4 separate regions of the Homo sapiens genome follow, and all the other regions are linked to region 1. The links are contacts of gene promoters, found by promoter capture Hi-C in human tissues and cell types (Jung and others, 2019). All regions are on one chromosome and are shown on one strand. Each heading gives the region's core, a stretch centred on a gene start or on the middle of the fragment in contact. The rest is flanking DNA. Distances are from core to core; before and after follow the strand shown.

The links. The method cuts DNA at HindIII sites, captures the fragments that hold promoters and counts their contacts. A contact is called where the count stands out against the background at its distance.
Region 2: a contact is called between a fragment that was not itself captured here and the fragment with the promoter of LCMT2 in region 1, in 1 of the 25 tissues and cell types used here (mesenchymal stem cells).
Region 3: a fragment that was not itself captured here is called in contact with the fragment with the promoter of LCMT2 in region 1 in 1 of the 25 tissues and cell types used here (spleen).
Region 4: a fragment that was not itself captured here is called in contact with the fragment with the promoter of LCMT2 in region 1 in 1 of the 25 tissues and cell types used here (lymphoblastoid cells).

What each region holds. Positions count from the first base shown.
Region 1 is chr15:43,328,324-43,334,428 of GRCh38, forward strand. LCMT2 (leucine carboxyl methyltransferase 2) reads right to left here and starts at 2,250. Exons shown (of 1, transcript NM_014793.5): 1 at 1-2,250. The coding sequence starts at 2,166. The coding sequence ends at 106. MAPDA (N6-Methyl-AMP deaminase) reads left to right here and starts at 2,349. Exons shown (of 13, transcript NM_001324366.2): 1 at 2,349-2,536; 2 at 3,577-3,677; 3 at 4,988-5,111. RefSeq lists enhancers at 2,158-3,108, 2,341-2,390. The HindIII fragment of the contact is 18,030 bases long and covers 1-5,739 here.
Region 2 is chr15:43,523,905-43,530,009 of GRCh38, forward strand. It overlaps MAP1A (microtubule associated protein 1A), which reads left to right. Exons shown (of 6, transcript NM_002373.6): 4 at 1-5,604; 5 at 5,746-5,966. Among named protein-coding and RNA genes, the nearest start is that of MAP1A, 9.3 kb to the left of the region's middle. RefSeq lists enhancers at 3,810-4,442, 5,424-5,924, 5,925-6,105. The HindIII fragment of the contact is 5,634 bases long and covers 938-6,105 here.
Region 3 is chr15:43,476,395-43,482,499 of GRCh38, forward strand. It overlaps TP53BP1 (tumor protein p53 binding protein 1), which reads right to left. Exons shown (of 28, transcript NM_001141980.3): 5 at 4,501-4,628; 6 at 3,465-3,623; 7 at 3,003-3,132; 8 at 1,199-1,365. Among named protein-coding and RNA genes, the nearest start is that of TP53BP1, 14 kb to the right of the region's middle. RefSeq lists a silencer at 810-1,051. The HindIII fragment of the contact is 7,884 bases long and covers 1-6,105 here.
Region 4 is chr15:43,195,074-43,201,178 of GRCh38, forward strand. CCNDBP1 (cyclin D1 binding protein 1) reads left to right here. Exons shown (of 11, transcript NM_012142.5): 11 at 1-2,104. It overlaps EPB42 (erythrocyte membrane protein band 4.2), which reads right to left. Exons shown (of 13, transcript NM_001114134.2): 13 at 2,154-2,391. The coding sequence ends at 2,229. Among named protein-coding and RNA genes, the nearest start is that of CCNDBP1, 13 kb to the left of the region's middle. The HindIII fragment of the contact is 7,230 bases long and covers 1-6,105 here.

The DNA.
Region 1 (6,105 bases), core at 1,000-3,499:
AAGGATGGGGAAAGGAGGAGTGGCAGTATCTATAGCTAGAGGGTCATCCTATTTGTGGAAAACTTTATTGTCTACTTTAGTGGGTCCTGAATATTAGTCCAGTCCTTACTGCCCAGCACTTAAGGAAGAAAGGTCTAATGTGACTGTATGGGGGTTGAAGTAGGTACCAAAGGAAAAGCAGTTCCCACCACCTCCAAGGAGCAGGAGCTGTTGCTCTTCAGGAAGAAGGATACTAGTATGGTTGTGTAACATTAATGGCCATGGCACATATGTTGTGTCAATCTGATACTCAGAGCTCAATCCTGTAGTCAAATTGATCACAGTCACTCCAGGAAATGAGGAGGAATGAATCCAGATCCCTCCAACCAGTAACAGCTTTCCATTGAGCACATGAGCTGTGTGGGAGTACCTTGGGGTAATGGGAGGCTGGATGTCTACTGACTCCCAGAGGAATCCACAAGAGATTGGTCTCAGAAAGAGCACAGAGTTCAATGGCTCCTCAGAAGCCCCGAGACCTCCAGCAATAAGGGCTCCCCCTTGCCAAGTGCAGGCACTGTGAGAATGCCGGGCTTCAGGTACTTCTCCCTCCACTGGGATCCTGACCCAAGCCATTGTCCCTACATGGAGGAAATGCCAGTCACTTAGTACAGGTTCCACCACGCTTCGACCCCCATACACAAACAAATATTCCTGATTCTGACAGGACACTTCTGTTGTTGAATGCCGCCAACAACACAAAGTGGAATCATCCTTTCGGCCAGCCTTTGTTATTGTCACTTTCAGGTCCTCAGTGTTATTATCCTCACTCTTAAAAAAATGAAGCTGGAGAACCCCCAAGGCTGGACTTACTGGGGACAGTCTCCCTCCCAGAACCAGAACCCGACTCTCTGAGAGTCTTGTCATGGTGTGATAAAGGCGTCCATCCCACTGAACTCCAGTCCCACAACTGCCTATTTGGCTGCCTTTCCATTCAGAGTCACAATCTCTTGAGAGCAAGTGAAACTGGCTCACTCGGCAGTGCCGCCCCTCCTGCTCTCCAAATCCTCCTGCACTGAGAATAACGTCTGGGCTCAAGAAGACAGAGGCGTGGCCATATCTCTTCAGGTTTGGGACCTGGCCCTCGCTACTGACTACGCTGGCAGGGAATACCCCTGAAGGCGAAGCAGGATTTACGCGAGGAAATGCCTCTGAGGATGGAAACACTAGGGTGTGGGAGAGGGTGTCTCCCCTAGAAGCTGCCAGAATGAAATAATGGGCGCACTTCAGATGCCACTCCTCAAATTCGTCAAAGGGTTCAATATTTTCCACCCGCCGGCGTTCTTCTGCGGGAAGAAAGCAGTGATAGAATTCATTCATGTCCACGGCACCGCAGGCGGTCCAGCCAGCTTGAAGGAAGCGGCGCCGCTGCGCCTCCACGTCAGGAAAACGCTCCAGGCCATGCAGGGGGGAGTTTAGCTGCCGAAAATGTTGCAGCATGAACTGGCCAAAGGCGTCTTGAGGCCTCATCTGCTCATAGACCACGAAAAGGGCATTAGGAAAACGCTGGGCTGCCCAGGCGATGAGGGCCGCGGCACTCTCCGGCTCGAGGTAGGTCAGCACCGCCTCGGCCAGGAGCAGAGTGGGTGAGGCTGCGTCGAGCCCCGCGGCGCCCAGGGCCTCCTCCACTCGCTGGAGCTGCCGCAAGTCCAGACCCAGGATGCAGTAGTCTGCGCTCTCAAAGCACAGCGCGGACGCGGGCTCCCCCCTCTCGAAAGGCCCGGTTAACGCGCACAGCTCTGGCGTCTCTCCAATCCTTTCTGCTTTGCGCCGCGCCACGTCCGGAAAATCCACCTCCCAGACTGCAGCCCGGGCCAGGCGGCCCGCGGTTTTTAAGCGAAAATAGAGCGAGTCGAAGCCAGCGCCGAGAGACAAGATCTGCGCGCGAAGCGCGGCCTGGGGCGCGCCAATCTGCTCCAAAAAAGCGCGCACGCAGTGCCTCACGGCGCGTGCGCGGACGTAGTAGCCTCGGTGAATGAGCGGTGCGCGGCGCGCCGCGCCCGGAACCAGCAACGCGGCAAAGGGGTCCTGCACGTACCCGCGCGCGGCCAGGGAACGCTTGCTGAGGGCGCTGCTGTCGTTGGTGTTCTGTACCGCGCCTGCCCGACGCTCACGGCTCCGGGGGCCCATGGCCAGAAGAGACTCAGGAATGGCAGTCTGTCACGGTTGTGAGCCGCCCCTTGGTTAGCACACACCTCACGGACCTCGGTAGGGGGAAAAAAACCACCCATGCTCCTGGACTTCCCCTTCCGCCGGCACTTGTGCGTCACTTCCGGGAAGAGCGCATCTCGCCAACCAGAATTGAGGAGGGTGTAGCCAGTGCTAAGTTCGCTTGCGGCTGACCTTTCTTTGGAATGTCGTGAGTTCCATTTGTCCCAGAATACGGTCCGCTACCGCTGTGACATGAGTGTTAGGGAAGGCGGGTTGTCACGTTTCTACAAGCCTTCCAGTCAAAAGGGAAACCTTGCCTAAGTCCTTGTAGTTGAGAAATCTCTAAGAGGTGAGTCTGTGGGGACTGACGACTTGGCTTCCTTGGACCGCCAAGGAAGGGTCTGGTAGGAGCCAAGAAGGGTCGGCACCACGGACCTTCAGTAGGCAAGGATTAGTTAGCTTCCTTGGGTGCTAATAGTTGCTGATTTATTTAATGCTCTCACAGTTGCAAAAGAGAACCCCATTTAAAACTTGAAAACAAGTCACTAAGGCCAGGGTGCAAACTGAAGAAACCGACCTTTACAAATAATTTATAGACACCTAACAAGAAGACGTTTCCCCACAGATAGTAGACTGTTGATTCCCTTGTATTCCCAGCCCTATGTTAGACTGACGGTGAATAAACCACTCAGCCTCTCTTTCTCATCACACCGCCTTGGAGAATTCTGTGGATTTTAAAGTAGTGTTGAATATGTCCCCAGAAAGGGGAGTCACTGAAGAGAGGTGATTGTTCCCTGTGATATGTTCTGAGCTTTGTTTTTAAGGAGTAAATCCAGGTTAGACTTCAGAATAATCATAAAGTTTCTAAATTGGGTGTCTGGGAGTCATCCATAGGAAACCACTTCCAGAGACATTTAGGAAATTTATCATTTGTTCACTGGGATTTGGTGACTGACTGGCTGAAATAGAAAAGGAAATCAGATAACTTTATGGTTAACTACAGGTGGTACTGCATAATGGTTAAGAGTGTGAGTTTTGGAGTCCAGCAGATTTGGATACTGGAGTCAAGAAAAAGTTTCGTATTTTCCAATGTTTTCTTGTGGAACAAAATGAAATAAGAAAGAAAAGGTTTGGATCAGGATAAAGATTCGGTAATTGAAAAGTGACATTTAGATTTGGTGTTTAAAAGCTCATTAATGGCCTTAGGGAGAGCAGTTTCTGTGGAGCAATAAGGGCAGAATCCATGTTTCAGTGAATAGGAGGTGAGTTAAAGGAGGTATCCAGTCTAAATTATTATACTTTCGAGGAGCTTAACTCAGAAGGAAAAAAGGGTCAGGGCAGTGGCTAAAGAATATTGTGGGATAAAAGAGTCTTTTGTTTTGTTTTCAGGTGGAAGCAAATACTGCACATGCGTGTTGGTCCTGTGAGGGAAACCAGCTAGTGGAGAGGGAGAGGTTGAAGGAACAGAAAAATGAGAAGACAACTCACTGGTAGAGTAACTTGGAATAGATAGAAATGGGATCCTGGGCACGTATTAGTTGTGGGGATAGGAGAATGAATCCTTTATCTGTGACTCCTGATGGGGTAAAAAAAAGATTATGGATAATCATAAGCTCAGGTGTGAGGTAGGGCAGAGAGAAAAAGAAGGAATTTGCACCTGATGGCTTCTGTTTTCTCTGTAAAGTTGGTGACAGAGTTGTCAGTTTAGTGTAAGGCATTCAGATCTGATGGAACATTTGAGCAGTTTGAGAATTGCTTCTGAAGGGATTAGAAGAAGGGCTCACCTATGCCTGCTGGGTCAGTGGATCCTCACCTCTAAAATGAGATTAAGTACTGCTTCGTGAGGTATCTCAGGGTTGATTGAGGGGCAAATAGAAAAAAAAAAAAAGTTGAAGGACTTTGAAAAATACGTAGCACCATAGAAACAAATTTATTTAATGACAGGTTCCTAAAATGTAGGTGTTATGTCAAAAATACTACTTGTTTTGCAAAGACCAGATCAAGAAAAGTAATTAAAGAAGAAAGAGAATGGAGTAAAATTTCTGATTTCGATGCCTTATGATTTAGGCCGGGGGAGGAGGGGCCATTGTTTAAATCTCAGTTTATTCTTATATAAAATGGGGATAATAATATCTCAGGGGTTGTTGTGAGGATTTAAACAAAATAACTATCTAAGACACCACAGTGCCTGGCTCATGGTAAGTGCATAATAAACAGTAACAAATTTTTTTTTATTCTGAGTTCCCTTTTGGGGGAGTAGGTGGGAGCATGAAAAAAGTTCCCTGGGAGACAGGATACTTGCTTCTGGCCCTGCTCTAATATTGATGAAGTATTACTAACGTGGATCTTATCCCAGTGTTTGTTGCCTTCCGTCCCAGAGCAAAACCAGTCCAGAAAAGTTAAATTTGTCATGGCATGCTGTTGTTGGTATCCATGTTTTAGGCAAGGAACAACAATTTTTTTTAATGTGTAAAGATTATGATTGCTTAGTTGCTTTTTAATTTCCATAGGTTAACATTGTAGCCAGTGGGTCAGTAAATTTACTCACAGCTAGTTAAAGGTCAGTCTGGAGGATGGTTTGAATGGGGCACAAATTAAGGTCAGGATCCTGGAGTAAAATTGAAAATCTGGCCGGGCGCAGTGGCTCGCTCCTGTAATCCCAGCTCAGGCTGGTGGATCACTTGAGCCCAGGAGTTTGAGACCAGCCTGGGCAACATGGTGAGACCCCGTCTCTACAAAAAAAATTTTATATAAAATTAGATGGGCATTGTGGTGCATGCCTGTGATCTCTGCTGCTTAGGAGGCTGAAGTGGGAGGATCGCTTGAGTCTGGAAGCTTGAGACTGCAGCAAGCTGTGATCGTGACACTGCACTCCAGCCTGGGCAACAAAGTAAGATCCTGTCTCAAAAGAAAAAAAAAAAAAGGTATGTTTTTCCATTTTAATTAAATCATTTATGTTTTTCGGTAGAGATATTAAATGCCATTGATTAAATAGTCCATCTTTTTCATTTTTTACTATTTATTAAGCACTTACTATGGCATTACTTTGAAATGCCATGTTTATCTCATACTAAGTAGGCCTTTCTATGGATTTCTATGGCTATGTTTAGTCCTATACAAACTACTTTCTTTATTGTACATTTTAATATCTTGGTAACTTATTTAACCCCACTCAGTATCAATTTATTGATTTTCAATACAGTAATATTTCACAAAGTTATTTCAAGGATTAAAGATAACATTATTAAAAGCGCTTGTCACATACCTGTTAGGTTCCAAATACATGGAAACTGTTATTCTTAAACATCATCCTCATTAATACGTGAGAACCCAGAGAGTCAAGGTGGCTAGTTTGAAAATCACTAAATTTCACTTGGAATTTTATCTTCACTTATAAACCACTTTCAGAAGTGAAGGGAAATTATGATTGATTTATCACCTACAGTGTGCTAGGCACTGTGCTAAGTGTTAGAGTGGTGGAATAATTCAAAGGACCTGTCCTCAAGGAACTTACAGTCTGGTGAGAGAGAAAGACAAGTATATCAGTGATTGAGATATCAGTGTGATTAAATGCTGAGTTAAAGGCAGTGACTGGCTCATGTGGGAACATAGATGAGGGGAATTTAAAATACTTTATTAATCGTCACTGCTACTTTGCATTTTTAATCCCATTTTTGTAAATAAAGAAACTGAAGCCATGAAGGTGAGTGACTAAGGCCACACAGCTTCTAACCTGTAGAGCTGGTAAAAGGACAAACCTAGGTCCATCTAATGCCAGCACCTCTGTTCTTCTTTTATATATTTTAAACAATTCAAAATTTAAAATTTTATTTTTGGCCGGGCATGGTGGCTCATGCCTGTAATCCTAGCACTTTGGGAGGCTGAGGCGGGTGGATCACTTGAGGTCAGGAGTTCGAG
Region 2 (6,105 bases), core at 2,505-5,004, 200 kb after region 1:
ACCCCACTAACATAGTGGCTGCCCCTTTGGCTGAAGAGGAACATGTGTCCTCGGCCACTTCAATCACTGAGTGTGACAAACTTTCTTCCTTTGCCACATCAGTGGCTGAGGACCAATCTGTGGCCTCACTTACAGCTCCCCAGACAGAGGAGACAGGCAAGAGCTCCCTGCTGCTTGACACAGTCACAAGCATCCCTTCCTCCCGTACTGAAGCTACGCAGGGCTTGGACTATGTGCCATCAGCTGGTACCATCTCACCCACCTCCTCACTGGAAGAAGACAAGGGCTTCAAATCACCACCCTGTGAGGACTTCTCTGTGACTGGGGAGTCAGAGAAGAGAGGAGAGATCATAGGGAAAGGCTTGTCTGGAGAGAGAGCTGTGGAAGAGGAAGAGGAGGAGACAGCAAACGTAGAGATGTCTGAGAAACTTTGCAGTCAATATGGAACTCCAGTGTTTAGTGCCCCTGGGCATGCCCTACATCCAGGAGAACCAGCCCTTGGAGAAGCAGAGGAGCGGTGCCTTAGCCCAGATGACAGCACAGTGAAGATGGCTTCTCCTCCACCATCTGGCCCACCCAGTGCCACCCACACACCCTTTCATCAGTCCCCAGTGGAAGAAAAGTCTGAGCCCCAAGACTTTCAGGAGGCAGACTCCTGGGGAGACACTAAGCGCACACCAGGTGTGGGCAAAGAAGATGCTGCTGAGGAGACAGTCAAGCCAGGGCCTGAAGAGGGCACACTAGAGAAGGAAGAGAAAGTTCCTCCTCCCAGGAGCCCCCAGGCCCAGGAAGCACCTGTCAACATTGATGAGGGGCTTACAGGCTGTACCATTCAACTGTTGCCAGCACAGGATAAAGCAATAGTCTTTGAGATTATGGAGGCAGGAGAGCCCACAGGCCCAATTCTGGGAGCAGAAGCCCTTCCCGGAGGTTTGAGGACTTTACCCCAAGAACCTGGCAAACCTCAGAAAGATGAGGTGCTCAGATATCCTGACCGAAGCCTCTCTCCTGAAGATGCAGAATCCCTCTCTGTCCTCAGCGTGCCCTCCCCAGACACTGCCAACCAAGAGCCTACCCCCAAGTCTCCCTGTGGCCTGACAGAACAGTACCTACACAAAGACCGTTGGCCAGAGGTATCTCCAGAAGACACCCAGTCACTTTCTCTGTCAGAAGAGAGTCCCAGCAAGGAGACCTCCCTGGATGTCTCTTCTAAGCAGCTCTCTCCAGAAAGCCTTGGCACCCTCCAGTTTGGGGAACTAAACCTTGGGAAGGAAGAAATGGGGCATCTGATGCAGGCCGAGGATACCTCTCACCACACAGCTCCCATGTCTGTTCCAGAGCCCCATGCAGCCACAGCGTCACCTCCCACAGATGGGACAACTCGATACTCTGCACAGACAGACATCACAGATGACAGCCTTGACAGGAAGTCACCTGCCAGCTCATTCTCTCACTCTACACCTTCAGGAAATGGGAAGTACTTACCTGGGGCGATCACAAGCCCTGATGAACACATTCTGACACCTGATAGCTCCTTCTCCAAGAGTCCTGAGTCTTTGCCAGGCCCTGCCTTGGAGGACATTGCCATAAAGTGGGAAGATAAAGTTCCAGGGTTGAAAGACAGAACCTCAGAACAGAAGAAGGAACCTGAGCCAAAGGATGAAGTTTTACAGCAGAAAGACAAAACTCTGGAGCACAAGGAGGTGGTAGAGCCGAAGGATACAGCCATCTATCAGAAAGATGAGGCTCTGCATGTAAAGAATGAGGCTGTGAAACAGCAGGATAAGGCTTTAGAACAAAAGGGCAGAGACTTAGAGCAAAAAGACACAGCCCTAGAACAGAAGGACAAGGCCCTGGAACCAAAAGACAAAGACTTAGAAGAAAAAGACAAGGCCCTGGAACAGAAGGATAAGATTCCAGAAGAGAAAGACAAAGCCTTAGAACAAAAGGATACAGCCCTGGAACAGAAGGACAAGGCCCTGGAACCAAAAGATAAAGACTTGGAACAAAAGGACAGGGTCCTAGAACAGAAGGAGAAGATCCCAGAAGAGAAAGACAAAGCCTTAGATCAAAAAGTCAGAAGTGTTGAACATAAGGCTCCGGAGGACACGGTCGCTGAAATGAAGGACAGAGACCTAGAACAGACAGACAAAGCCCCTGAACAGAAACACCAGGCCCAGGAACAAAAGGATAAAGTCTCAGAAAAGAAGGATCAGGCCTTAGAACAAAAATACTGGGCTTTGGGACAGAAGGATGAAGCCCTGGAACAAAACATTCAGGCTCTGGAAGAGAACCACCAAACTCAGGAGCAGGAGAGCCTAGTGCAGGAGGATAAAACCAGGAAACCAAAGATGCTAGAGGAAAAATCCCCAGAAAAGGTCAAGGCCATGGAAGAGAAGTTAGAAGCTCTTCTGGAGAAGACCAAAGCTCTGGGCCTGGAAGAGAGCCTAGTGCAGGAGGGCAGGGCCAGAGAGCAGGAAGAAAAGTACTGGAGGGGGCAGGATGTGGTCCAGGAGTGGCAAGAAACATCTCCTACCAGAGAGGAGCCGGCTGGAGAACAGAAAGAGCTTGCCCCGGCATGGGAGGACACATCTCCTGAGCAGGACAATAGGTATTGGAGGGGCAGAGAGGATGTGGCCTTGGAACAGGACACATACTGGAGGGAGCTAAGCTGTGAGCGGAAGGTCTGGTTCCCTCACGAGCTGGATGGCCAGGGGGCCCGCCCACACTACACTGAGGAACGGGAAAGCACTTTCCTAGATGAGGGCCCAGATGATGAGCAAGAAGTACCCCTGCGGGAACACGCAACCCGGAGCCCCTGGGCCTCAGACTTCAAGGATTTCCAGGAATCCTCACCACAGAAGGGGCTAGAGGTGGAGCGCTGGCTTGCTGAATCACCAGTTGGGTTGCCACCAGAGGAAGAGGACAAACTGACCCGCTCTCCCTTTGAGATCATCTCCCCTCCAGCTTCCCCACCTGAGATGGTTGGACAAAGGGTTCCTTCAGCCCCAGGACAAGAGAGTCCTATCCCAGACCCTAAGCTCATGCCACACATGAAGAATGAACCCACTACTCCCTCATGGCTGGCTGACATCCCACCCTGGGTGCCCAAGGACAGACCCCTCCCCCCTGCACCCCTCTCCCCAGCTCCTGGTCCCCCCACACCTGCCCCGGAATCCCATACTCCTGCACCCTTCTCTTGGGGCACAGCCGAGTATGACAGTGTGGTGGCTGCAGTGCAGGAGGGGGCAGCTGAGTTGGAAGGTGGGCCATACTCCCCCCTGGGGAAGGACTACCGCAAGGCTGAAGGGGAAAGGGAAGAAGAAGGTAGGGCTGAGGCTCCTGACAAAAGCTCACACAGCTCAAAGGTACCAGAGGCCAGCAAAAGCCATGCCACCACGGAGCCTGAGCAGACTGAGCCGGAGCAGAGAGAGCCCACACCCTATCCTGATGAGAGAAGCTTTCAGTATGCAGACATCTATGAGCAGATGATGCTTACTGGGCTTGGCCCTGCATGCCCCACTAGAGAGCCTCCACTTGGAGCAGCTGGGGATTGGCCCCCATGCCTCTCAACCAAGGAGGCAGCTGCCGGCCGAAACACATCTGCAGAGAAGGAGCTTTCATCTCCTATCTCACCCAAGAGCCTCCAGTCTGACACTCCAACCTTCAGCTATGCAGCCCTGGCAGGACCCACTGTACCCCCAAGGCCAGAGCCAGGGCCAAGTATGGAGCCCAGCCTCACCCCACCTGCAGTTCCCCCCCGTGCTCCTATCCTGAGCAAAGGCCCAAGCCCCCCTCTTAATGGTAACATCCTGAGCTGCAGCCCAGATAGGAGGTCCCCATCCCCCAAGGAATCAGGCCGGAGTCACTGGGATGACAGCACTAGTGACTCAGAACTGGAGAAGGGGGCTCGGGAACAGCCAGAAAAAGAGGCCCAATCCCCAAGTCCTCCTCACCCCATTCCTATGGGGTCCCCCACATTATGGCCAGAAACTGAGGCACATGTTAGCCCTCCCTTGGACTCACACCTGGGGCCTGCCCGACCCAGTCTGGACTTCCCTGCTTCAGCCTTTGGCTTCTCCTCATTGCAGCCAGCTCCCCCACAGCTGCCCTCTCCAGCTGAACCCCGCTCGGCACCCTGTGGCTCCCTTGCCTTCTCTGGGGATCGAGCTCTGGCTCTGGCTCCAGGACCCCCCACCAGAACCCGGCATGATGAATACCTGGAAGTGACCAAGGCCCCCAGCCTGGATTCCTCACTGCCCCAGCTCCCATCACCCAGTTCTCCTGGGGCCCCTCTCCTCTCCAATCTGCCACGACCTGCCTCACCAGCCCTGTCTGAGGGCTCCTCCTCTGAGGCTACCACGCCTGTGATTTCAAGTGTGGCGGAGCGCTTCTCTCCAAGCCTTGAGGCTGCAGAACAGGAGTCTGGAGAGCTGGACCCAGGAATGGAACCAGCTGCCCACAGCCTCTGGGACCTCACTCCTCTGAGCCCAGCACCCCCAGCTTCACTGGACTTGGCCCTAGCTCCAGCTCCAAGCCTGCCTGGAGACATGGGTGATGGCATCCTGCCGTGCCACCTGGAGTGCTCAGAGGCAGCCACGGAGAAGCCAAGCCCCTTCCAGGTTCCCTCTGAGGATTGTGCAGCCAATGGCCCAACTGAAACCAGCCCTAACCCCCCAGGCCCTGCCCCAGCCAAGGCTGAAAATGAAGAGGCTGCGGCTTGCCCTGCCTGGGAACGTGGGGCCTGGCCTGAAGGAGCTGAGAGGAGCTCCCGGCCTGACACATTGCTCTCCCCTGAGCAGCCAGTGTGTCCTGCAGGGGGCTCCGGGGGCCCACCCAGCAGTGCCTCTCCTGAGGTCGAAGCTGGGCCCCAGGGATGTGCCACTGAGCCTCGGCCCCATCGTGGGGAGCTCTCCCCATCCTTCCTGAACCCACCTCTGCCCCCATCCATAGATGATAGGGACCTCTCAACTGAGGAAGTTCGGCTAGTAGGAAGAGGGGGGCGGCGCCGGGTAGGGGGGCCAGGGACCACTGGGGGCCCATGCCCTGTGACTGATGAGACACCCCCTACATCAGCCAGTGACTCAGGCTCCTCACAGTCAGATTCTGATGTCCCGCCAGAAACTGAGGAGTGTCCGTCCATCACAGCTGAGGCAGCCCTCGACTCAGATGAAGATGGAGACTTCCTACCTGTGGACAAAGCTGGGGGTGTCAGTGGTACTCACCACCCCAGGCCTGGCCATGACCCACCTCCTCTCCCACAGCCAGACCCCCGCCCATCCCCTCCCCGCCCTGATGTGTGCATGGCTGACCCCGAGGGGCTCAGCTCAGAGTCTGGGAGAGTAGAGAGGCTACGGGAGAAGGAAAAGGTTCAGGGGCGAGTAGGGCGCAGGGCCCCAGGCAAGGCCAAGCCAGCGTCCCCTGCACGGCGTCTGGATCTTCGGGGAAAACGCTCACCCACCCCTGGTAAAGGGCCTGCAGATCGAGCATCCCGGGCCCCACCTCGACCACGCAGCACCACAAGCCAGGTCACCCCAGCAGAGGAAAAGGATGGACACAGCCCCATGTCCAAAGGCCTAGTCAATGGACTCAAGGCAGGACCAAGTAAGTATATCATGAAACTTGGCAGAGAGTGTGGGTTAGGGCTGGGTGTGGGCTGGTCAGACTTCAGGAGTGGGACAGAGGGGAAGGTTGCCAAAAGGGTTCTACTTTTCCTCTACAATGAATCCTGGCTTGTCTCTACAGTGGCCTTGAGTTCCAAGGGCAGCTCTGGTGCCCCTGTATATGTGGATCTCGCCTACATCCCGAATCATTGCAGTGGCAAGACTGCTGACCTTGACTTCTTCCGTCGAGTGCGTGCATCCTACTATGTGGTCAGTGGGAATGACCCTGCCAATGGCGAGCCAAGCCGGGCTGTGCTGGATGCCCTGCTGGAGGGCAAGGCCCAGTGGGGGGAGAATCTTCAGGTGAGTAGCAAAGGACACCAAGGAAGTAGTCTGGTCAACGCTCACTCAGAGGCAGTAGTGGAACACAGTCCCTATTTATTAAAGGATGGGCCTTTTCTAAGGGCAGCAGAGCTGCTTCTGAGACCATGAGGTGCCCCTT
Region 3 (6,105 bases), core at 2,668-5,167, 150 kb after region 1:
AGTCAAGCTCATGCCATGATACAGATGGGAGAAGTCAAAAAAATGCACATGACACTTGATGTTATAAATGCAGCAGTTTTCAAGATTTGGGCCTGCTCAAAGGAGTAAAAGGATTTATGAGCAGCCATTACTGTTTTATACTATGAAGAGTCTCTTGTTGGTCCCTTCCCCTTAGCAATAGATGGAGTATCAACTATATTAATCCCAGTGTAAAAGAATTTCTTAAATAAAACCTTACAACTTTAGTAAGAGACCAACAAAGGTTCCTCGGTGACCCTCTGAATGTCTTGCACAGCAACCTGTATCACAGCATAGCAAAGGAAGATAGCCTTCTTCCCTTCCCGCCTTACAACCAACATAATATGTTTTGCTGGTAATTAACTCAAGCTTTCTAGCTCTCTGAGGCTGTGGAATGAAAGATTGGTGGAGGTTAAAGAGGTGTGAAACAAATTATATCCTTTTAAGTTTTATGTCCTTTCCGCTAGATTTTAAATTCCTATCTGTGTCAGATTAACTAATAAACAGATTAAGTTAGTAAACTGTTACCCAGATGAATATGAAAAACCTAGGCTTAATATCATATTGAAGATTTGAAGACATAGTAGCCATGTAACAGAAAATGGCAGCCAGGTGTGGTGACTCATGCCTGTAAGCCCAGCACTGTGGGAGGCCAAGGCAGGCGGATCACAAGGTCAGGAGATCAAGACCATCATGGCTAACACAGTGAAACCCCATCTCTACTAAAAATACAAAAAATTAGCCAAGCATGGTGGCGGGTGCCTGTAGTCCCAGCTACTAGGGAGGCTGAGGCAGGAGAATGGCATGATCCCGGGAGGCGGAGCTTGCAGTGAGCCGAGATTGCGCCACTGCACTCCAGCCTGGGTGACAGAGTGAGACTCCATCTCAAAAAAAAAAAAAAGAAAAAAAGAAAATGGCTAGTATCCATAATACTAAATTTACTGTATTAGCTATTCTTCACCATCTCATTTCCAAAAGAGAGAAAATTATGTCAAAATATTAAATGGAAATTATTCCCAAAAAGCCCTTCTCACTAATTACTAGAAACACGTTTTCCTTCCATATCACAAACAAGTCTGCAAACCTATAAAATGCTTTGTAACTTAACCAGTAGCCTCAGAACTAAAGTAAAAGTTTAGATCTTTGGAGAAGAGCTGTAACGACAAATCACTCTTGGTACCTGTTTTATTGCTCTGGTCAAACAAGTCTTCCTGAGTTGACAAAACCTCAGGCTCTGGTGACTTCTGAATCTGCAGTCCACTTTCCATAAGTTCTTGTGCAGACAACTGTTCTTTTGCTTCCATAGCAGCAACAGATGCTTTGGGGCTAAAAGGCATGTCCTCTGACCTAGGAAATTCATATCACCAGGAGAAAAAGTTCCTAAGTTCAAATGTTTTTAAATAAAAAGCTTTTCCTGTTTTGTGTGTTTTTCTTTAATAATTTCAAAAATTCCAGTGGCTCTAATTTACATAATTATATATTAAAAAGGAAATAAACTACTCTTTATAGTGATAAAAGTCCTCAGCCCATTTTAAAACCTGTCTCACTCTCTCTCACAGCCAATACCTGTCTTCAACTCTGCTCAATACTGTGCTTCATGCTTTCTAAGATTTCTGATGAGTAACTTGGGGAATTTTTGTTACATATAATGTTATCTAGACCTGTATAAAGAATTCTGATCCAGACCCCAATGATGCCAGTAAGGAGAACAGTCCAAACCATGACATTCCATGGAAAGCATTTGATGTCAATTATCCTCCTTACTAGTGCCACACACATCTTCTGCTGACCTTTTCCATTTGATGTACCCAAACCCCAAACCAATTCTCCTTCAGATCAATACTAACATGTATAAGACATTCATCCCTGGCCCCTTTCCAGAGACTTATGAGGTTCACCTGTTCTACCACTCCCCAGGGTAAACAGAATAGCATAACTAGATGGAAGGCAGCATCTAAAAGAAAAGCCTAAAAAGTCACTGTTATGCTGAGTGTTTTACATTAGAAAGACAATTTCTCTTGATATTCAACTTTGCTTAGGACACTCTCTCCCCACTCTTTCCATTGAAGGAAATAACAAAACAATACTGTTTATTTATCCCCTATCCCAAACTGGAAGCATCCCAGTTTTCTTCTGCCATATTCAAACTTCACTTACTGGCCAGAGGTAATGAAGCTTTGGTTATAAAAATCACGAGAGATGAAGCAGAGGCACATTCCCCAATTCCTACCAAGTTAAGAGCCTAAAGAACCTGAGAAAATCCCTACATCTATCGATACCATAAAATACCAGATGCAGGATACCTAAGAACCCAAAGCAATCTGGGTGCTCCTCAAGTATAGAAACAGTAGGCTTTCAAATAAAATAGTCATGTTACTCTTCATAACACCAGAGAGGCTAAGAAGACCTCCCACAGACAAGCAGTGTCTCTGTAGACAAAGATCACAAAGGAGGAGTGGCAACCAAAGATTACGGAGTCATGCTTATAGTTAGAGCAGCCTTAAAACATCATTGCAGGCTAGGCAGAGTGGCTCACGCCTATAATCCCAGCACTTTGGGAAGCTGAGGCAGGAGGATTACTTGAGCCCAGGAGTTCGAGACCAGCTTGAGCAACATAGCGAGACTCCATTTCTACAACAAAAAAATTTTTTTAATCAACAAAAAAAGGTCTTTGTAGAATGCCTAAAGATAAGATTAGTAGTCAAGTGTGGCCCCAGTACTTGGGAGGCTGGGGCAGAGAATCACATGAGCCCAGGGCAACATAGTGAGACTTTGTTTCAAACAGACAGACAGACAGACAGACAAAAAACAATTCTTGAGACTTCATAAATAATCAACGTTTCCAATGGACCACAAGTATGCCCAGTACAAGGGGAAAATAATTTAAAAATCAACAATTTCTAAAAATGTTTTCATCTGGTAAAATGACATTAGTATAACCCTACAGCAAAACTCGTAAATCCTTTTTAGAAAGTTCGGCTTACCTTGCAGGTGGTGGATTTTGCTCTTTTACAACATGTACATCCTTACTGGGCTGTGCTGTCACAGGGATGTCCTTGCTGGACTGTTCTGCTATGGGGATATCTTCGTTGGACTGTTCTTCATGCTTAATTGCTGAGAGTTTTATAAAATGACAGGAAGGAGATAATTAAGTTTTCAAAATACTAGATACAGTCCCAGATGTTTTTTAAAAAGCAAAGATTTTAACAGAAGTCCAATTTAAAATATATACAGGCATCAGTCTATAAAGGAAAGTAACCAATAACTTAAAACCTCAGCCCACAAACCAACAATTGACAAGTATTTACCAGAAAACTCTTCAACCTTACTAAATTACTTAGATTATATTAATTTGGATAGCTGCAAAACTTATCAAAGAAAAAATAACTACCTCTAATATGGGAGAAAACACAACAACTCCAAATGCCAGAAAACATGTTTCATACCAGTATTAGCATCCACATCAGACAGCCTGGTATAACCAGAGTTGGTGGTTACTGATTGTAGCTGCTCTTTGTCCACTTCATATGGCACAGTATTTTCCTCAACATCCTGGCTCTGGGAGAGTTCCAGAACCCCAAAACCCAACTGTGATGAGGCAGTATCTAGGAACAAAATGCCAAGAAATTAGGTATCATCCCACAACATTATGCAATGTACAAGCTGCTGTCCTCAGCAAAGGAGGGTCCCGTTAAGTCCTTCACATCAAAGCCCTGTGCACCCCCCAAATTTTTCAAAAATAAAAAATAAATGTGGCCGAGCACGGTGGCTCACACCTATAATCCCGGCATTTGGGAGGCCAAGGTAGGTGAATCACTTGAGGTCAGGCGGTCAAGACCAGCCTGGCCAACATGGTGAAACCCCATCTCTACTAAAAATACAAAAATTAGCCAGGTGTGGTGGCGCACACATGTAATCCTGGCTACTCGGGAGGCTGAAGCACAAGAATGGCTTGAACCCAGGAGGCGGAGCTTGCAGTGAGCCAAGATTGCGCCACTGCACTCTAACCTGGGCAACAGAGCAAGACTCCGTCGCAAAAAAATAAAAAATAAATTTAAAAAAAATAAGTGCATTAAAGATGAAGGGGGAAAATGTGTAATAAAGTAAAAATACTTCATACTATAAAATCTTATAAGGAGACTACGTCTGCTTTCTAAAGGTACATCATAAACTACACCCACAGTCACAGCAATTCAGACTGTACTTACACCCCACAAAGTACACATTACAAAAATATTTGAAAAACAAATGAATACAAGAGGAAGAAAACTCAATATGCAGAAAGGGGCTAACCAATGAACTACAAATTCCTGAATACCAAATCAGGTGGAACATTTTAAATTACTAGCAAATTTCTTAATGACTCTCAATTTAATTATGAGAAATCTGCAACCTAATAAAGAGGAGAAATTTAGACATCTGCACAATCATGTTAAAGGGAAGTTAGAACAGTCTATTATTCTGAAAAAAGCACAAGGCTACCTTCAGCACCAAGGGAATGTGTAGTATTGCCTGAAGTATCTTCTTCCTTCTCTTTCTCCTTCTGTTCCAACTCTTCTCCCTTCTCTTCCTCCACAGCAGGAGCAGATTCCACTGACATTCCCAGAACACTACACAGCAGAAGGATATAATCATGTGTTCCCAGATAGTTTGGGACACTTTAATCAGAGCACTCTGACCCCCAACACATACCAACCATCTCTTAGCCAAACTTGAAAAAGTAAAATACCTCACCTTTATAGTGCTTCTTTCTACAAAAAGCACCTAAAAGATTAACAATTCAACATCCTACACAGAATTAAGTAAAGAAAAAATAAGGCACCAACATACTCGAATTTTATATTTTTGAGAAGAGGCAGAAAAATCTTGCATTCAGGAGAATTACTGACAAGTGACAAGAGAAGATATGCATTGGATGAGCACAGAAAGGGCTCAAAAAACTTTTTAAAAGTTCACAGAAGTATTTTAGTAAAAAATCTTAAAATACATATATAGAACCACAGAGTCCAAACAAAATTCAGGTAAGGAGCTTATATATGTATATAAATACACACACACACACACACACACACACACACACTTTTTATTTTTTACTTATTTTTTTTTTAAGAGACAGAGTCTGGGCCGGGCACAGTGGCTCACACCTGTAATCCCAGCACTTTGGGAGGCAGAGGCAGGCAGGTCACGAGGTCAAGAGATCGAGACCATCCTGGCTAACATGGTGAAACCCCGTCTCTACTAAAAATATAAAAATTAGCTGGGTGTGGTGGCATGCGCCTGTAGTCCCATCTACTCAGGAGGCTGAGGCAGGAAAATTGCTCGAACCCAGGAGGCGGAGGTTGCAGTGAGCCGAGATCGCGCCACTGCACTGCAGCCTGGTGACAGAGCGAGACTCTGTCTCAAAAAAAAAAAAAAAAGAGAGAGACAGAGTCTGTCTCCCAGGCTAAAGTGCAGTAGCACGATCACAGCTTACTGCAGCCTTGAACTACTGGGCACAAGCAAACTCCATATATTTTTAAAATAAGTTAACACCGACCAGGCACGGTGGCTCACGCCTGTAATCCCAGCACTTTGGGAGGCCAAGGAGGGCGCATCACGAGATCAGGAGATCGAGACCATCCTGGCTAACATGGTGAAACCCCATCTCTACTAAAAAATACAAAAAAATTAGCTGGGCGTGGTGGCAGGTGCCTGTAGTCCCAGCTACTCAGGAGGCTGAGGCAGTAGAATGGCGTGAACCCGGGAGGCAGAGCTTGCAGTGAGCCGAGATCGCGCCACTGCACTCCAGCCTGGGCGACAGAGCGAGACTCCACCTCAAAAAACAACAACAACAACAACAACAACAACAAGAAACAACCTATAAATTCAGCATTAAGGAAATGATTACATAATTTCACAATCTATTAATAACATATATCACCGTTAAAAATGTTTGAAACAAGGCCAGGCGCAGGGGCTTATCCCTGTAATCCCAGCACTTCGGGAGGCCGAAGTGGGCGGATCATTTAAGGTTAGTTCAAAACCAGCACGGCCAACATGGTGCAACCCCGTCTCTACTAAAAATACAAAAATTAGGCTGGGCGCGGT
Region 4 (6,105 bases), core at 1,286-3,785, 130 kb before region 1:
TTCCTGAGTCATTTCTCAGAGATTCCTAGGAAAGCTGCCTTATTCTCTTTTTGCAGTAAAGTATGTTGTTTTCATTGTAAAGATGTTGATGGTCTCAATAAAATGCTAACTTGCCAGTGATTAAATGAGTGCCCTTCCAAAGTTTCTTTTTACCAGAAATACAGTGGATTGAGACTAGAACATTGCTTTCATTTGGGTTTGTAGGTTTAAAAATCTGATTCTAATCAGAAGTATATTTAGAACAAAACACTTTATTTATAAAAGATGACTCCAAAATTCATCTTAGTATTTCACCATGTTATATATTATTATCAGCAAGTCCTTCTGAATATTATCACAGATTACTCCATGTCTCTAAAATATATTGGCATTGAGCTCATTTGTTAGGTTTGCCCACCTTATTGAACAGATTTATTTTCCTTATACATACTTGTGTTGTCCTTGGTTACGTGTGTCCCCAAATGTAAATACCAAATTTTTATAAATCAAAAATTTTTTAGTGTGTAAGAGATTTTATGTAATTTTAAGGGCCTTTTCAGTTCATCCTTTTGCAAAACCATCACCACTTAATTATACTTTTGCATCAGTCTAGAAGACTGCATATTGGAAAGCAGTGTAAATCTATAATGATGTATATTCTGGTGAGCTGAATAGGGCATTATGCATGTCCTACAGGTCTCCGCCACCTCTCATGCCCATCATCTTCCTTTTGTAGGTGTAATTCATAACATATGCCTTTCTGCTGTCTTTAGGTATAATCAGCAACAGCAGTCATTCTTTGAGTGACTAATGTATACTTGGGGTTGGGGTTGAAATTCCTTAAGCCAAATGAGTTTTAGCTTACTGTTTTGAAGTGCCATTTTGTATTGTTAACAAGTGTCATGAAGGGAAGGAACTAAAATCAAACTGACAGAGTGTCAAGGCAACAAAATAACATAAACAAAATAATAACATTGTACAACAGTCTAGTTCTTTTATCCTTTCATATAGAGCCTATTTTTTATATACTTTTATATTTCTCTACTGGACCAAATTCATGTTATTAACATCAGACTTTAATTGTGGGATACTTAATGAATATAGAACTCTAATATAAAGACTTACCTCTAGCTGAATTATTCTCTCAGGTCCTGTATTGTATAACTTCGTTCAGTCATGTTTGGATCTTTAAGGATAATGATCAGGGAAAGCACTGATCAATGTAATTTTTTTTTTTTTTTTTTTTTTTTTGAGATGGAGTCTTGCTCTGTCCCCCAAGCTGGAGTGCAGTGGCACACTCTCGGCTCACTGCAACCTCCGCCTCCCAGGTTCTCAAGCAATTCTCTGGCTTCAGCCTCTCAAGTAGCTGGGACTACAGATGCACACCACCATGTCCAGCTAATTTTTGTATTTTTAGTAGAGATGGGGTTTCACCATGTTGGCCAGGCTGGTCTCAAACTCCTGACCTCAGGTGATCTGCCCACGTCAGCCTCCCAAAGTGCTGGGATTACAGATGTGAGCCACCGAGCCCAGCTTGATCAATGTAATTTTAAGATTACCTAAAAATTCCATTTTGGGATAATATCCCACTTCATCAGAAATATTAGAATGATTTAAGTGTTAGGTCCTTTCCCTTATCTGTAAGTTAATGAATGTATTAATGAGCAGTAAAATGGTTGCAAAAAACCTGAACCTGAACAATCTGAATGTACTCCTTAAAGGTATCTGAGCACCTTTTCAACCTGAATGACTACTCATTTATCTGATAAAGTGATGTAGTTTGGATATTCAACCCTGCAAACCTCATGCTGAAATTGGATTCCCAGTGTTGGAGGTGGGGCCTAATGGGAGGTGTTTGGATCCCTCATGAATGGCTTCGTTCCATTGGTGGGGTAATGAGTAAGTTCTCGCTCTATATGTCCCTCCCCCACCCCAGAGCTGGCTGTTAAAACGAGGCTGGCACCTGGCACTTACCCCTACCCCTCAACCCATTCTTGCCCTGTGATCTCTGCTCACGTTGCCTCCCTTCATCTTCCTGCATAAGTGGAAGCAGCCTGAAGCCCTCACTGTTTCTTGTACAGCCTGCAGAGCCGTGAGCCAAATAAAGCTCTTTTCTTTTAAACTACCCAGCCTCAGTTATTCCTTTATAGCAACACAAACACTGAGACGCAAAGTTTCTCTTCCTAGCACATGTTTGGTTTAGATTGTAGAACAAGGGTTGGCAGGAGAGTGGTGATAGAGCTGGAAGTTTAAGCTGATAGTTCAGGGGCTACCACGGTGACGCTTTTATAGTTGGTTAGGTTCTGGAACATGTTGCAGTCCACTTCCACAGTGAGTCTCTGGAGCCCCACATGTGTTGGCGTGAACTGGAACTTGGCACACATGGTGTTTTCAGGCCACACTGAACGGAATCTGAAATAAAGGAAAAGGCAGGTGCTAGTTCTGTCCCAGGTTCATTGCTCTGCTGGTCCCAGTGACTTTGATCCTTCCTTGCTTGAAGAGGTGGACCATGCAGAAATAAACATCTAAGTACCTTGCTATTAAAATGGAAGTGTTTATAAAGGAATAGAAGACAGGAGCCACCCAATGCTGAGCAACTGCATGGTTGAGAAGAGGTACATCCTAAGGGCTTCCAAGCTACATCTGTTGTTCCTTTTGTCATCTGTGACTTCCTTCTGGTTCAATTCCTGGTAATTGTATTGGAGTTTGTTTGGAAGAGTGATATGGTTTGGCTGTGTCCCCACCCAAATCTCAACTTGAATTCTATCTCCCAGAATTCCCATGAGTTGTGGAAGGGACCCAGGGGGAGGTAATTGAATCATGGGGGCTGGTCTTTCCTGTGCTATTCTCGTGATAGTGAATAAGTCTCAGGAGACCTGATGGGCTTATCAGAGGTTTCTGCTTTTGCTTCTTCCTCATTTTCTCTTGCCACCACCCTGTTAGAAGTGCCTTTGCCTCCTGCCATGATTCTGAGGCCTCCCCAGCCATGTGGAACTGTAAGTCCAATTAAACCTCTTTTTCTTCCCAGTCTCAGGTATGTCTTTATCAGCAGCGTGAAAACAAACAATACAGTAAATTGGTATGAGTAGAGTGGGGCATGGCTGAAAAGATACCCGAAAATGTGGAAGTGACTTTGGAACTGGGTAACAGGCAGAGATTGGAGCAGCTTGAAGTGCTCAGAAGAAGATGAAAATGTGGGAAAGCTTGGAACTTCCTAGAGACTTGTCGCATAGCTTTGCCGAAAATGCTGATAGCAATATGGACAATAAAATCCAGGCTGAGGTGGTCTCAGATAGAGATGAGGAACTTGTTAGGAACTGGAGCAAAGGTGACTCTTATGTTTTAGCAAAGAGACTGGTGGCATTTTGACCCTGCCCTAGAGATTTGTGGAACTTTGAACTTGAGAAAGATGATTTAGGGTATCTGGTGGAAGAAATTTCTAAGTAGCAAAGCATTCAAGAGGTGACTTGGGTGCTGTCAAAGGCATTCAGTTTTATAAAGGAAGCAGAGCGTAAAAGTTTGGAAAATTTGCAGCCTGACTATGCAATAGAAAAGAAAAACCCATTTTCTAGGGAAAAATTCAAGCTGGCTGCAGAAATTTGCATAAGTAACAAGGAGCCTAATGTTAAACCTGAAGATCAAGGGGGAAATGTCTCCAGGCCATGTCAGAGAACTTCATGGCAGCCCCTCCCATCACAGGCCCGGAGGCTCAGGAGGAAAAAGTGGTTTAGTGGGCCAGGCCCAGGGTTCCTGTGTTGTATGCAGCCTAAGGACTTGGTGCCCTGTGTCCCAGCCACTCCAGCCATGGCTGAAAGGGGCCAACATACCGCTTGGGCTGTGGCTTCAGAGGGTGGAAGCCGCAAGCCTTGGCAGCTTCCAAATGGTGTTGAGCCTATGGGTGCACAGAAGTCAAGAACTGAGGTTTGGGAACCTCTGCCTAGATTTCAGAATATCTATGGAAATTCTGGGGGCCCAGGCAAAAGTTTGCTGCAAGGGCAGGACCCTCATGGAGAACCTCTGCTAGGGCAGTGCAGAAGGCAAATATGGGGTCAGAGCCCCCACACAGAGTCCCTGCTGGGGCACTGCCTAGTGGAGCTGTGAGAAGAGGGCCGCCATCCTCCACACCCCAGAATGGTAGATCCACTGACAACTTGCACTGTCTGCCTGGAAAAGCCACAGACACTCAGCGCCAGCCTGTGAGAGCAACTGGGAGGGACGCTGTACCCTGCAAAGCCACAGGGGCAGAGAGAACTGCCCAAGACCATGGGAACCCACCTCTTGCATTATTGTGACCTAGAGTCAAAGGAGATCATTTTGGAGCTTTAAAATTTGACTGCCCTGCTGGATTTTGGACTTGCATGGGCCCTGTAACTCCTTTGTTTTGGCCAATTTCTCCATTTGGAATGGCTGTATTTACCCAATACCTGTACCCCCACTGTATCTAGGAAGTAACTAGCTTGCTTTTGATTTTACAGGCTCATAGGCAGAAGGGACTTGCCTTGTCTCGGGTGAGACTTTGGATTGTGGACTTTTGGATTAATGCTGAAATGAGTTAAGACTTTGGGGAACTGTTGGGAAGGCATGATTGGTTTTGAAATGTGAGGACATGAGATTGGGAGGGGCCAGGGATGGAATGATATGATTTTGCTGTGTCCCCACCCAAATCTCAACTTGAGTTCTATCTCCCATTCCTCATGGGAGGGACCCAGGGGGAAGTAATTGAATTATGGGAGCTGGTCTTTCCCATGCTATTCTTGTGATAGTAAGTCCCATGAGATCTGATAGGTTTCTCATGGGTTTCCACTTTCGCTTCTTCCTCATTTTCTCTTGCCACCACCATGTTATAAATGCCTTTCACCTCCCGCCATGATTCTGAGGCCTCCCCAGTCATGTGGAACTATAAGTCCCATTAAACCTCTTTTTCTTCCCAGCCTTGGGTATGTCTTTATCAGCAGCGTGAACACGAACTAATATAAAGAGCTATAGCTTTGGAACCCTTGCTTATTGCTAAGCACAGTGGATGTAGCAGGGCTTATTGAGAGGATGTCAGTATGTCAGCAGGTGGTGTTTGGAGCCTTGTCAGCAACCTCCTGGCCTGCCTATAAACCTTCTTTTGGTGACAGACTTCCTTTGGGGAGCTTTGCCCCACAACTGATTTGGGAGACCACAAAAGTATGGTTAAATGTTGACAGTCCCTTCTCTTGATTTCTTGGCAAGAATGTCTCATTAAGTTTCATGAGGCTGAGGCAGTGGCTCAGTAACCCACACACCTGTTAGGGACCTCAGGGAGGGTAGGAGTAAGTATCTTGAACTTTATACTGTCTGTTCAACTAAGGATGCAGTAGACATAATGAAAGAAGATATTTGCAACGTCTAAAACCAACAAGGGACTAATACCTGGACTATACAGGAAACTTCTACAGATCAATAAGAAGGAAGCACAGAAACACCAAAAGAAAAGTGGGCAAAATAAGACAAACTACTTACTGAGAAGAAAACATAAAAGGCTAACAAACATATGAAGAGTTGCAATTAAAATAATAGTAAGATATTACTTCATTTTTATTGGACTGGAAGAAAATGTTAATAGCTGGGTATTGCCAGGAATGAAGGAGGGGTAGGAATACAGAAATTCTCATGTGCTGCTGGAGGGAGTGGAGACTCTTGCAGCCATTCTGCAAATCTGACAGTACCTGGTCAAACCACATCATAGCCTAGGACCCAGCAATTCTATTCCTGGGTATATATCCCCAGACTCCACCAAATTTTTTTTTTTTTTTGAGATGGAGTCTCGCTCTTTCACCCGGGCTGGACTGCAGTGGCGTGATCTCGGCTCACTGCAAGCTCCGCCTCCCAGGTTCACACCATTCTCCTGCCTCAGCCTCTCAAGTAGCTGAGACTACAGGCGTCTGCCACTGTGCCCGGCTAATTTTTTGTAATTTTAGTAGAGACGGTGTTTCACTGTGTTAGCCAGGATGGTCTCGATCCTCCTGACCTTGTGATCCACCTACCTTGGCCTCCCAAAGTGCTGGGATTACAGGCGTGAGCCACCGGGCCTGGCCACCAAATTTTCAAACAAGTATATAAGGAGACTTGTGTGAGGATGTGCACTGCAACATTATTTGC